3 separate regions of the Homo sapiens genome follow, and regions 1 and 3 are each linked to region 2. The links are contacts of gene promoters, found by promoter capture Hi-C in human tissues and cell types (Jung and others, 2019). All regions are on one chromosome and are shown on one strand. Each heading gives the region's core, a stretch centred on a gene start or on the middle of the fragment in contact. The rest is flanking DNA. Distances are from core to core; before and after follow the strand shown. Region 1 overlaps LOC105370816 (a long non-coding RNA gene). Region 2 holds the start of LEO1 (LEO1 component of Paf1/RNA polymerase II complex). Region 3 overlaps MYO5A (myosin VA).

What was found. The method cuts DNA at HindIII sites, captures the fragments that hold promoters and counts their contacts. A contact is called where the count stands out against the background at its distance.
Region 1: a fragment that was not itself captured here is called in contact with the fragment with the promoter of LEO1 in region 2 in 1 of the 25 tissues and cell types used here (aorta).
Region 3: a fragment that was not itself captured here is called in contact with the fragment with the promoter of LEO1 in region 2 in 1 of the 25 tissues and cell types used here (dorsolateral prefrontal cortex).

What each region holds. Positions count from the first base shown.
Region 1 is chr15:51,627,209-51,632,018 of GRCh38, forward strand. The region is part of intron 3 of LOC105370816 (a long non-coding RNA gene); the gene reads right to left. Among named protein-coding and RNA genes, the nearest start is that of DMXL2, 6.8 kb to the left of the region's middle. The HindIII fragment of the contact is 4,382 bases long and covers 611-4,810 here.
Region 2 is chr15:51,969,871-51,974,417 of GRCh38, forward strand. It overlaps LEO1 (LEO1 component of Paf1/RNA polymerase II complex), which reads right to left and starts at 1,908. Exons shown (of 12, transcript NM_138792.4): 1 at 1,818-1,908. The coding sequence starts at 1,875. It also overlaps a transcript of MAPK6 not described here. RefSeq lists enhancers at 1,025-1,601, 1,425-1,954, 1,602-2,177. The HindIII fragment of the contact is 14,890 bases long and covers 1-4,547 here.
Region 3 is chr15:52,436,285-52,440,678 of GRCh38, forward strand. The region is part of intron 1 of MYO5A (myosin VA); the gene reads right to left. Among named protein-coding and RNA genes, the nearest start is that of MYO5A, 90 kb to the right of the region's middle. The HindIII fragment of the contact is 8,386 bases long and covers 1-4,394 here.

The DNA of each region.
Region 1 (4,810 bases), core at 1,552-4,051, 340 kb before region 2:
CTGATTTGTTATATTTGCTTTTGCTTTAGGTAAGAATGCCACTTATAGGATGAAAAACAAAAACTTACGTATCTGCTCTCTTTCTCTGCTAGAGGTAGCATTAAATTATTGTCTTTTTGGTGACTGTAACTCAGACTCTTAGCTATTTCTCATTCATTATGCATTTGGCTTTTTATCTCTAATGTAAGTGCATTGGACATGGGGCAGTTTTTACATACCTTTCTCTGGTGTAAAGGTGAATCTTTATGCATCTTATAAGCAGGTGAATACAATAAGTTTTCATCTAGTTAGATTATTTTGTTGCTAGGCTCAGAACACTGACCATTTAGAAGGAGTACAGAGAATATTGGTTCATATTTTTGCAGGTACCTATTTATGATTGTACTGTGAAAAGTAATATGCTCTATGTATACAATTTATTTCCTTAATGATCACTGATTAGCACTTTTATAAACTCATTTAAGCAAGAGCTTAAGTGGTAACTAATTTTTTAAACATTTTATCGTATGAATGATTATACAGAGTAGACCAGACACAAAAACTATTCACCCTTGCTTATCTTTTCAACTTCATCTTTCAACATTCCTGACCTCTAAATGTAGGGTACAACCACACTAGTATACAGTAATTCCTTTCAAGCCTCTGGCCACTGGCTAATTTCCCTTTCCAGAAACTCCCTCACTATTATCATTACCACCATTTGGTCGGGCGTGGTGGCTCATGCCTGTAATCCCAGCACTTTGGGAGGCCAAGGTGGGCAGATCACCTGGGGTCAGGAGTTCGAGACCACCCTGGCCAACATGATGAAACCCCGTCTCTACTAAAAATACAAAAAAAAAAAAATAGTCAGGTGTGGTGGCATGCGCCTGTAGTCCCAGCTACTTAGGAGACTTTGCTTGAACTTGGGAGGTGGAGGTTGCAGTGAGCTGAGATCGCACCACTGCACTCCAGCCTGGGCAACAAGAGTGAAAACTCTGTCAAAAAAAAAAAAAAATCCATACTCTTTGCCTATTTCACTCTTTCACTCCTACTCTTCCCTAAAAATTCAGTTCAGGCACCCCCATTTCTGGAAAACTTTGCACAGTGTGAATTAGATTCCTTTGTTATATACTCACAGTATTCTCTTACCTTTTCTGCCTAGAGGGCAGGGACTGTGTCTTGATGTTGACAATTTCTGATTGCCTTACCTATTATCTGTTTTCTCCTCATCAGGACCCTCAGTTTTTAGCTGGGAAATAGATGCCTGGAATAAAGAATACATTTCCCAGCCTACCTTGTTGCCACTTGGTTATATGGCTAAGTTGTGATCAATTAGATGTTGATCAAAGCAGAAGTACAGTAGTTTCTGGAAATTTTCCTTAAAAGGTAGCTATCATACCTTTTATGCCTTCTTCCTTCCTTCCTCCATCCTGTTTCCCTAGAACATAGATGAGATCACTGAAGCTCCATTTTGGAGCATGAGGATGAGGGTTCAACCCTAGGGATGGTGGAGTAGAAAACTGGAAGCTGCCGGGTTCGGTTGATCACACCTGTAATCCCAGCACTTTGGGAAGCTGAGGTGGGTGGATCATTTGAGCTCAGGAGTTCCAGACCAGCCTGGGCAACAAGGCGAAACCCTGTCTCTACAAAAATACAAAAATTAGCTGGGCATGGTGGTGCATGCCTGTAGTCCCAGCTACTCTGGAGACCAAGGTGGGAGTTTTGTTGGAACCCCAGAGGTGGAGGTTGCAGTGAGCCCATATTGCACCACTGCACTACATCCAGCCTGGGCAATAGAATGAGATGCTGTAAAAAAAAAAAAAAAAAAAAAAAAAAAAGAAAAGAAAAGAAAGAAGAAAAGAAAAGAAAGAGAAAAAAAAACAACAACTGGAAGCTTGTCACTTGTCACTGAATTCCAGGCAACTGTGGAGCCTTCTCACCAGCCTTGGTCTTCTCCATCTGGATTTTTACATTAGAGAGAAATAAACTTCTATATTATTTAAGCCACTGTGTTTTGTGTCTCTGTTAGAGATGTTGCTAATTCTAACTCATACTCTTAGCTGTGTGTGTGTGCGTGCGTGCGTGTGTGTGTGTGTGTGTGTGTGTGTGTGTTTAATTGCTAAAGCCTGGCAAAGTACCTGGAACACAGTAGGAACTCAAGAAATGTTAACTAAGCCAAGTAGTTATTAACTGTATCAGGGTACATTATGTAAATTTTGTGAAAATGTCACAAATATTTTAGAACTTACATACCTTTCCAAGGCCTCAGAAAACAAAATACTACATCCTGTCGGGAGGGCAGATGGTAGTTGTGGGATAGAAAGCCAGTAGTGTTGAGATAAAGGATAAGGACTGAACAAAAGTTGAAGTTAGTTACTAAATCAGGCATGGCCTGCTGGGTAGTCAACAGACCATTTTGTGCATCTGAAGAAATGAATTAATTTTGCTGGCATGGTACTTAAGCAAAATACAATTTTAAAGAGAGAGAGAAACAAGTTCATTCGGTGCTAGACTTAGAGAGAAAAATGAACTTATGTTGTTCTGGTTGCTGAGAGAAAAATCAGTCAACAATCAGGCATTGTGGTGTTGAAATCACCAAGTATTGCACAGTACTCTTAGGGGTGGGCCAGGATGGTCACACTCCTAAAGGGAAGTGAGAGGGGAGAGGAATCAGCACTTCCTCATGGTGAAGAGATGGCATCCCTGCCTGCAGGAAAAAAATTGTATCTGGGGGCAGCAGAAACAAGCATGTGCCAGAGGGTCTGGGTCCAGTGTTTGTTTTTTGTTGTTGTGTGGTGGTGGTGGTGGTTTGTATTTCCCTGCATGTGGGTGTGCCCACATGCATCAGGTGTTAACCAAAAAAATCTGACGTTATCAATTGACTCTCCTTTTAATCTAGTTCTATATACTGCAAGCATATTTGTATAGGCATATTCCTGTGACCATTAACCCTTTTACATATGAAGAAAGATTATGAAAAATGTTCAGGATAGATTAAGGTTTTTATTGCATTTTTCAAAAAGAAGATTGTAAAAAGAGAAAGCTGACCACCAACATATGAATGGATAAATTGTGCTATCTACATACAATAGAATATTATTCAGCCATGAGGAATGAAGTACTGACATATGCCATAATGTGGATGACCTTGAAAACATTATGCTCAATAAAGGAAGCCAGACACAAAGGCCCCACTGGCTACACATTTATATGAAAATTTCCAGAATAGGTAAATCCATAGAGATCTTAGAAAGCACATTGGCATTGCCAGGGCCCAGGGGAAGAAATGAATAGGGGTACAGGGTCTCCTTGTGTAGTGATAAAAATGTCTTGGAACTAGATAGAGTTAATGGTTGCACAACACTGTGAATGTATTAAGTGCCCCTGAATTGTTCACTTCCAAATGGTTAATTTTATGTTATATGAATTTTACCTCAATAAAAAGAAACAGTCATTTTTTGTTAATTAACAGAAACTCCATGTGTGTACAAAGAAAAAGTTCTAGAAAGTATGTTAACAGCACTCATGTCTAGTTGATAGAATTATAAACAAGTTTAATTTCAATTTTTTTCCACATTTGTTTCCAATTTTTCTGCACTGAATATATATGAGTTGCTTTTATATTGGGAAAACAATGATTTTAAATTTTTAAACAAAAGATGGCCTTTCTTTAAGTCTATGAAGAAGTTTAAGAAACTAGGAAATCATGCTCAGATTAACATTATGTATTCCATATCAGTTGCAAAATTAAATTTTAAATGAAGATATAAAGTTTTATGGAGTATATTTCATTATTTTTAAAACACAATAATTTGTCCACACTTATATGTAAAATTTCAAATGCAAATGCAAAAGACATGTTTAAATTTGTTTAAAAGACAGGCATTGCAGAGGGTTCCTAAACAAGTCTATGGGCCTGCTGGGCCTTTGATCTTGGAGTGGATGATGACTTCCATAGCTCTACAACAGTGTCAGTAGGCCTACAACCTCAAAATCTCACCACCTTTGAAAAGCAGTTGGTAAGGAGCCAGTAGTCTTTCTGGTAAACAGAGTCCATGAACCCCACCGTATTAACAGTTTCTTTTGCCTAGAGGTCTTTCTCCCTTCCCCTCTTCAAACACGGCTCCACCCCAATTCAACATTGTCTTCAAAGCCCAGCTTTAAAATCACCTAGGTAAAACCTTTCCTCCCAATGATGTTAAATAAATTTATCCCACCCTCTGTTCCCCTAAATCTTTGTGTCTTCACTATGAGATTTATCTTATTACTTATATCACAATATACTTTTTCAGTGAGTTAGCAGCACAACTCCCATGCAAATATAAAATGAAATTATGCCAAAGATTTTGTTCAACTCATTCCTTGATTAAGAAACCAGTAAGATGTTAAAATAGTTCAAATAAGAATTTGACTTATGGAGATTTATATCTTCTACCTGACAGTTCATTTGCATTGCTTATGAAAATGAGTTAGTTATATTGCTATCAGTTTTCCAAAAATTTAGCTTTTATTCTCAATGTTTTTAAATAGCCTAGTTAATAGCAAATCAATCAAATAATATCAGACAATCCTTAAAATTCTCCTAGGCAATGCCCAGCTCTTCACTGAAGGTATACTTGACAATTTATTTTGCCTATTTCCAAGTCTTGAATAATTTTTCTTGACAATTCATAGCTTAGATCTCTGTCTACAGAGTCTGTTTGCTAGAGTATGAGCTCAAAAGTATATCTTCAGAGATTGGTTAAATTAAATACTGAGAGCGTCTTCATTCCAGGCAGCAACAAATACTCTAGGGATACAAAGATGAGGCAAAGGCAGAAAAACTTCTTTC
Region 2 (4,547 bases), core at 658-3,157:
GCATCATTAGCCTTTGGGAAAGTGTAAACTGAAACCACAATGAGACACCACTTGATAACATCAAGGATGGCTACTTTAGAAACAAATAAAAACTTAAAATAACTGTTGGCAAAGATGTGGGGAAAGGGAACCCTGGTGCATTGCTGGTGGTAATGTAAAATGGCTCAACCACTATGGAAAACAGTTTGGCTGCTCCTCAAAATATTAAAGAATTACCATATGACTCTGCACTCCTACATAATACCCTCCTCCCAAAATTAAAAACAGGCACCCAAACATGTACATGAATTTATTTATTTTTTTGGAGACAGAGTCTCACTTTATCACCCAGGTTGAAGTGAAGTGATGCAATCTCAGCTCACTGCCAACCTCTGTCTCCTGGGTTCAAGTGATTCTCATGCCTCAGCCTTCTGAGTACCTGGGACTACAGGCACGCACGACCACACCTGGCTAACAGTTTGTATTTTTAGTAGAGACAGGGTTTCACCATGTTGCCCAGGCTGGTCTTCAACTCCTGAGCTCAGGCAAATCCGCCTGCCGGAACCAGGAATGTTTACAGTAGCACTATTCAAACAACCCAATGTCCATCAACAGATAAATGGATTAACAAATTTAGGGTGTGCACATTCAATGGAATATTATTAAATCATTAAAAATGAATAAAGTACTGATATGTGCTACAATGCCTTGAAGACATTATGCTAAGTAAAAGAAACCAGACACAAAAGACCACAATGCATGATTCAATTTATATGAAATTCCCAGAACAGATAAGTACAGAAACAATAGCAGACAGGGGTTGGAGGAAGGAGCATATGAGGAGTAAGTGCTTTATGAACAGTGTTTTATTTGGGGGTGATGAAAATAACAACTAGATATATGTTGTCTACAAGAGACTCACTTTACTTGGAGCCTAGAGGGTTGCAAGAATTCTGAACTTGGTCTTGGGTTCTCACTTCAAATAGCTCCTATTCATATTTCAAGTGCCCGTAGTCTCAACTACTTGGAGGCTGAGGCAGAAGGATGGCTTGAGCCCAGAAGTTCAAGGCCAACCTGAGCAACACAGTGAGACCCTGTCTCTAAAAAAGTAAACTTTAAAAAAACACCCACAATCCTGTGCCAGAAATAACTTCCAAGCAGCATGCACATACACTAATTCATTCATTTCATCAACAAATCCTTCATTCCTCCTCTCTGTACACAGACCCCATGCACTCCCCAATCTAACATCACAGACTCCGGAAATTCTGGAGTTTCTGCACAAGCTCTTAGAGAACACATTCTCTCCTATGTGAAACATCTATCTGTAACCCCATCCCATTATCCGTCCCAGACTCGTCATCCAGACATCTCAAGCTCCCTATCACACCATGCTCTGGTTTCATTCAAGACGGCATTCTGAGGCCCTCTGTAAATTCGCCCACCCCATCCCATATTCCTGCATTCATTTCCATTCATTCAAAAACAGCCCTTACTCTACGCTGGCCTGTGCAAGGCAAGGCGGAACAGGACTCCAACGTTCCTACCCGCGCTGCGCAGGCTCGCCTGCACTTCCACCCATGCCCCGCGCCCCTTTCGCTCCACAAGCTCCCAGGAACCGTCTGCTCCACCGACACCCAGAGCCTCGAGGCGCAGACTGTCTGACTCTCCATCCTGCCCGCCGGAGGAGGATGGCACCTCCGGGAGTGCAGGGGGCGCTGAGGCAGGAGTGGAGGAAACGCCACCTCTTGCCCGCGGCGCTGGAGCCTCCACGGTTGTCCGGCTCCCACAGCGGAAGGCCTGCCACGCACCCATCCTCCGAAGACCAGCGAACCCACCTTTACGCTCAGCTTCGCTGTCGGCGTCGCTCCCGAAGAGATCCTCCATATCCGCCATTATCGCTCACGTCCGCTGCTGCCTCGGTTAGGGGCAGCTCCCGGCCTCTCTTTACGGCACGGAACCACTGAAACACGACAGTGTCGCAAAGATTCGCCGAAGACACTCCTTTCCTTACGTGACCTAGTTTTCGCTCGCCCAGTGAACCTGTTCTCGCCTGGGTATGCATGGTATATAAGCCCGGCCATTTCGTCAATATCTGTTATTTGCCAGGATTCTTACCAGGGGGCGGGGGGGTCCTGCGTTCGGTTGCGGGTGTGGATGGGGTGGGCGGTGACTGGCGCTCTCTGGGGAAGGGCCTCTGGCTGGATTAAACCTATCGCGAGTCAGGATTGAAGCCCTTTGTTTCTTACTGAGCAGCTGTTCTCCAGTTATTTCATCCCAAACCCCTTTACCCTCTTAAAAATTGTTGAGACGGAGTCTCGCTCAGTCGCCCAGGCTGGAGTGCAGTGGCGCGATCTCGGCTCACAGCAACCTCCACTGTCCGGGTTCAAGCAATTCTAATTCCTCAGCCTCCCGAGTAGCTGGGACGACAGGCGCCCGCCACCACACCCGGCTAATTTTTTGTATTTTAGTAGACACGGGGTTTCACCGTGTTGCCCAGGCTGGTCGCAAACTCAGGAGCTCAGGCAATCCGCCCGCCTCGGCCTCCCAAAGTGCTGGGATTACAGGTACGGGTATTGATATTTACTGTATTCTTACTAATACGGTAATAAATTTTTAAGTTACTAATTCATTTAAAAATAATATACATGTTAACAAACAGCTTTTTTAAGCTTTAAATGACCATTTTTTTGGCCGGGCGCGGTCGCTCACGCCTGTAATCCCAGCACTTTGGGAGGCCGAGGCGGGTGGATCACGAGGTCAGGAGATCGAGACCATCCTGGCTAACACGGTGAAACCCCGTCTCTACTAAAATAAAAAAAATTAGCCGGGCGTGGTTGTGGGCGCCTGTCGTCCCAGCTACTAGGGAGGATGAGGCAGGAGAATGGCGTGAACCCAGGAGGCGGAGCTTGCAGTGAGCCGAGATCGCGCCACTGCACTCCAGCCTGGGCACGAGACTCCATCTCAAAAAAATAATAATAATAAAATAAAATAATTAAAAATAAAAACATTAGCCAGGCATGATGGCATGCATTTGTAGCCCTAGCTACTCAGGAAACTGAGAATGGAGGATCACTTGAGCCCAGGAGTTGGAGGCTGCAGTGAGCTATGATCACGCCACTTCACTCTAGCCTGAGTGACAGAGTAAGGCTCTGTTTCTTAGAAGAAAAAGTGAGAAAAGAGTACATCCTGTGTTACATTACCTAATTAGGCCATTATGAGAGTTTTGGTCTTGGACAAGCAACAATGAATATTTAGTTTGGAGATTATATGATATATATTTTTGTAGTAAACTTCAGTGCTTAACAGGGTCCAAATGGGTGGGACTGGGTATGTAATCATCAATCCTAGAGCTTTTGTGTATGAAGCGGATGTTGCAAGAGAAGATACATAGATAACCTGAAAACTATCTGGAATACTGGAAAAACAAGTATTCCATTTGACAGTGATTCAGTTTCATTTTCATTTAGAGTACTGTCCCTGAAAAGTACTTTGATTAAATTTATTTTCTTTTGATACAGTGTCTCTGTTGCCTAGGCTGGAGCGCAGTGGCGCCATCATAGCTCACTGCAGCCTCAAACTCCTGGCCTCAAGAGGTCCTCCTGCCTCGGCCTCCTAACACGTTGGGATTACAAGTATGGGCCACAGTGCCTGGCTAAATCTTAATAAATTGAATTACAGTTTGGTCTGGTGAGTCACCATGTCCATATTCCTGGCTATCAGAATAAACGTGTTTTTCCCATATGAATAGTATAAAACAAATCACTTCTGACTCTTGGACAGATTTTTTTGTTTATGTTTTGGCTACACTTTTTTTTTTTAAACAGAGTTTCGCTCTTGTTGCCCAGGCTGGAGTACAATGGCGTGATCTCAGCTCACTGCAACCTCCACCTCCCGGGTTCGAGTGATTCTCCTGCCTCAGCCTTCTGAGTAGCTGGGATTACAGGCATGCGCCACCATATCCGGTTAATTTTGTATTTTTAGTAGAGATGGGATTTCATCATGTTAGTCAGGCTGGTCTCAAACTCCTGACCTCAGGTGATCCACCCGCCTTGGCCTCCCAAAGTGATGGAATTACAGGCCTGAGCCACCGTGCCCAGCCTTGTTTTGGTTACACTTTATGCTGACCATTGCTCTTCTACTCATTATCTTTCTTCATAAAGGATATAATACATGAGATTGGACTTAAGGTAAATCAATCACAATCATTTTGCAGTATTTCTTACCTGAGGTTATCACTTTGATTGAAGTTTATTTTATTTTTAATACTTTTTTAAAAACTTAAAAAAATATATAGAAACAAGGTCTCACTATGTTGCCTAGACTGGTCTTGAATTCCTGGCCTCAAGTGATCCTCGTGTCTTGGCCTCCAAAAGTGTTGGAATTACAGGTGTAAGCCACTACACCCAGTTTGATTAAAGTTTACAGTGCTAAATAACTTCATTTACCCCCAGAGATGGAGAATTTAATCCTATTTGGTTTGTGTTCAACTAATTTAACTTTGAATGTTAAGATGATCTTGACAGGCCGGGCACGGTGGCTCACCCCTGTAATCCCAGCACTTTGGG
Region 3 (4,394 bases), core at 54-2,553, 470 kb after region 2:
ACCTGTCCTTTCCTTCCCCTGCCAACCTCTAAGCCGGCACTATGCAGATCTTATTTTAGTTCTTCAGGAACACAGTTTTGTTTGCTCCTGTCTCTAGACCCTGGCTCTTGTTAAGCCCTCTATAATGTACTTCTCCCAGATCTGCTTATGTCTGCCTCCTTCTCACTTATATGATAGCTCAAATGTAAACCTCTTCAGAGAGGCCTTCCCAGACCTTTCTAGCGGAAATCAATCCAAACTACTATTACCATTCTCTATTTTACATTCTTCAGCACTCTTATTCACTATCTGAAATCACCTGCTGTTATGTTCTTGTTTGTTTACTTATTTACTATCTCTCTTCCTTCATTAGAACATAAGTTCTGTGTCTGTGTTGTTCAACACAGCAGGCAGTACTTAGAACAGTACCTGACACAGAGCTGGTGCTTAGTAAGAACTTATCGAAAGAAGATCAGAATAAAAGGCATCTCTTTAAATTGAATATAAGTAGCATGATTAAAAGCTCGCTCAATTGCTTTAATTTTCTCTTATTATTACCAACACATACAAACTTTTAATCTAAACAGTTTGCAGAGGAAAGAGTATGGAATTAGACTATGGGTTCTACTCCCAGGGCCACCAGATGGGCCTTGGCCTTTATTTCAGGCAACAATAAAATGAGGATGACAACAATAGTCTTCTAGTTTATTGCAAAGGCTTACGCACATAGAAACTTCATGAAAAGTATAAACCAATATATAAGTACAAGGTGGGGTTGTTACTGTTTTTCCCATAGGAAGTGATTTCTAATGTCATATATCAAACATGTTACTGAAATTTGTTTTACAACTTTTTTCCCAGGGACACAGTCCATAAACTGAGTAATATCTGTACATATCACTAAAGCCTTACTCATGTAATAAATATTTCTATGTACTAACTGCTCCCACTCTGAAGCTTACTTTACAAAGACAGCACTTTTGTAGCTTTCTCTGGAAGGCACTACTGGTTCCAGAAAAGATATATAAATATAAAGAGATTAAGAGTCGGGCTGGGCACAGTGGCTCATGCCTGTAATCCCAGCTCTTTGGGAGGCTTAGGCAGGCGGATCACTTGAGCTCAGGAGTTAGAGACCAGCCTGACCAACATGGTGAAACCCCGCCTCTACTAAAAATACAAAAATTAGCCAGGCATGGTGGTTCGTGCCTGTAACCCCAGCTACTCAGGAGGCTGAGGTGGGAGGATTACTTGAGCCCAGGAGGTGGAGGTTGCAGTGAGCTAAGATCAAGTCACTGCACTCCAGCCTGGGCAACAGAGCAAGACTCCATCTCAAAAAAAAAAAAAAAAAAAAAAGAGAGAGAGATATTCAGAATCATGAAATGACCTATCACCTTGACTGATGAAAACACAAAAAAGGAAAATGTGTCCAAGTGAGTTTGTAGAAGCATGACTGACCAGTGCCTAAACATGAGGAGACTTTAAATCTAGAAAGTGCCTTCATGTTCTGTGTTAGTAGGGAGCTCCAGCTCAGATTTCCACAAGTATTTTGCAAAAAGTAGATACTTTGCCAAAGACCAGATTTCCAAGGGCTAGATGTTAACAACACTTACAGATAAGCAGTGGGAGGATAAGGCCCTCATATTCACCAAAAGCAAGATATTTAAACACTGAACACCACCCTGATAACCAATTTCCTCTTTATCTTAGCTTTACCTCTGAGGAAAGCATCCAAGGAGAAATAGGTCAGAAACCATTCTATTATTACCATTGCCTTTCTGTGGTTCTTTTCCATCTTAACCAATGAGATCAGTGACTCTGCAGAAACAACTATGCCAGAAGGGGGTCAGTTTGAGGATATATACCTTAGATGCTGAAACAGGGAAATCTCAACCTGATATGCCACTTCCTACTGCTTTCATCACTTCCAACCCTGCCTCCCCCAGGCCGCAAAGCAAATACACATGGCAGGAATAGAACTAAACTTGTCCAGTCACATCCGGTGAGAAGACTGGGGGAAGGCAGGCAAGAAGACAAGGCCACTGGAACGCATGAGGAACCTAGAAATGGGACACAGTGTGAGTCGGGCAGGAATCAGAAACAAGGATAGACACTGCCTACTTAGTCTGCAGAAGGCCCTCCTGGTGAAAAAGAAGCAGTTAGAAAACAATAACCCTGGCCAAAGTGAATCAAACTGGACACAGCCCCAGCAAGGCAAGGGAAAGCCCCTGTTGAGAGACAGGACTAGCTGGATTTCCTAGGCAGACTAAGAATCCCTAAGCCTAGCTGGGAAGGTGACCACGTCCACCTTTAAAGATGGGGCTTGCAACTTAGCTCACACCCGAGCCATCAGAGAGCTCACTAAAATGCTAATTAGGCAAAAACAGGAGGTAAAGAAATAGCTAATCATCTATCGCCTAAGAGCACAGCGGGAGGGACAATGATCGGGATATAAACCCAGGCATTCCAGCCGGCAACGGCTACCCTCTTTGGGTCCCCTCCCTTTGTATGGGAGCTCTGTCTTCACTCTATTAAATCTTGCAACTGCACTTTCTTTTGGTCTGTGTTTGTTACGGCTCGAGCTGAGCTTTCGCTCGCCGTCCACCACTGCTGTTTGCCACTGTTACAGACCTGTGGCTGACTTCCACAGGGTGGATCCAGCAGGGTGTCTGCTGTACTCCTGATCCAGCTAGGCGCCCACTGCTGCTCCCGATAGGGCTACAGGCTTGCCATCGTTCCTGCATGGCTAAGTGCCCGGGTTCGTCCTAATCGAGCTGAACACTAGTCAGTCACTGGGTTCCACAGTTCTCTTCCGTGACCCACGGCTTCTAATAGAGCTATAACACTCACCGCATGGCCCAAGATTCCATTCCTTGGAATCCGTGAGGCCAAGAACCCCAGGTCAGAGAACATGAGGCTTGCCACCATCTTGGAAGTGGCCCGCCGCCATTTTGGAAGTGGCCTGCCACCATCTTGGGAGCTCTGGGAGCAAGGACGACCCGGTAACACTGTCATGTAGCTGGATTCTGTCATGATTAGCTAACAAAGGGTTAGGCTCTCTTTCAGTGATCCCCGTTTCCTCTTCTCCACTCACACTACTCTAGATCTAGTCCCTCATTATCTTGTGAGAGTCTCTCAAACATCTCACTTATGCTACCTGAAACCTTATTTTAGTTATTTATGAATCTACCTACCTTCCATACCAGACTATATACTCTTTCAAAGCCATCTTTGAATCCCCTTTGAGGTCAGCCAAGTTCCTGGCCCATAGTTTGTGGGCAGCACATATATGTTGATTTTATTTAAGACTGAGATAAGGTAAGGCAAGGAAAAGAGGTGAGAAAAATTGGCAACATTCCACAGGCTTAGCTCAGGATTTTCCATGAAGCCATACCAGAGTTTGAGGCCACCAAGCAGGGTTGAGATGGGGCATGAATCAGAGGCTTAAAGAAGAGAGACTCATGAAGTAGTAGGTAAAGAAAAAGTAAATAATGATGTAGAAACTGGTAGGAGAAGGAAAAAGAAGAGCCTGAGATTTGAGGTATTGGGATTAAAGAAAAAACCTAGGGAGGGAGAAATGAGAAAATAAACCTAAACTACATAAAATGTAAACACACATCAAAGATTTGTGACAATTCAAATGAACCACTTGACAAAAAATCAGGATGAGAATAAAATGAAGACGGACTAAATTTTATAATAGCTAAAATCTGAGAAAATAATGCTAGCACAGATTTAACCTGCATAATAGCTTGCAAGGAAAATAAAAGACATCTGTCCTTCCACAATACAATTTAATGAGGCCTGCCTGGCAGCAATGAGGTAATTTTGACAGAGTCTAAAAGAAGAGCACTAGAAAGGCACGTTCAAGGGACATGCTGGCACTGGAACATGCCAGAGAGAGGCACCAAGCAGTGTTGGCTCACCCAGCACTGCCCTTGCACCTCCTTGGGGGTTACACCCAGCCTTGCATGTTTAAGGAGGCACCAGCCATCTTTTTTTTTTCTTTTTCTTTTTTTTTTTCTGAGATGGAGTCTCGCTCTGTTGCCCAGGCTGGAGTGCAGTGGCACAATCTCTGCTCACTGCTACCTTTGCCTCCCAGGTTCAAGCGATTCTCCTGCCTCAGCCTCCCAAGTAGCCGAGATTACAGGCATGCACCACAACACCTGGCTAATTTTTATATTATTAGTAGAGACGGGGCTTCGCCATGTTGGCCAGGCTGGTCTTGAACCCCTGACCTCAGGTGATCTGCCCACCTCGGCCTCTCAAAGTGCTAGGATTAAAGGCATGAGTCACCGCACCTGGCCCACCAGTCATCTTTCTTTTGGTATCTTACCATGATGACAACACTGAAGAGGCCCTTGATTGATGCAGATGACTCACTGGAAGTTTTGCTAACTTGTGTTTTGTCTGTCAAG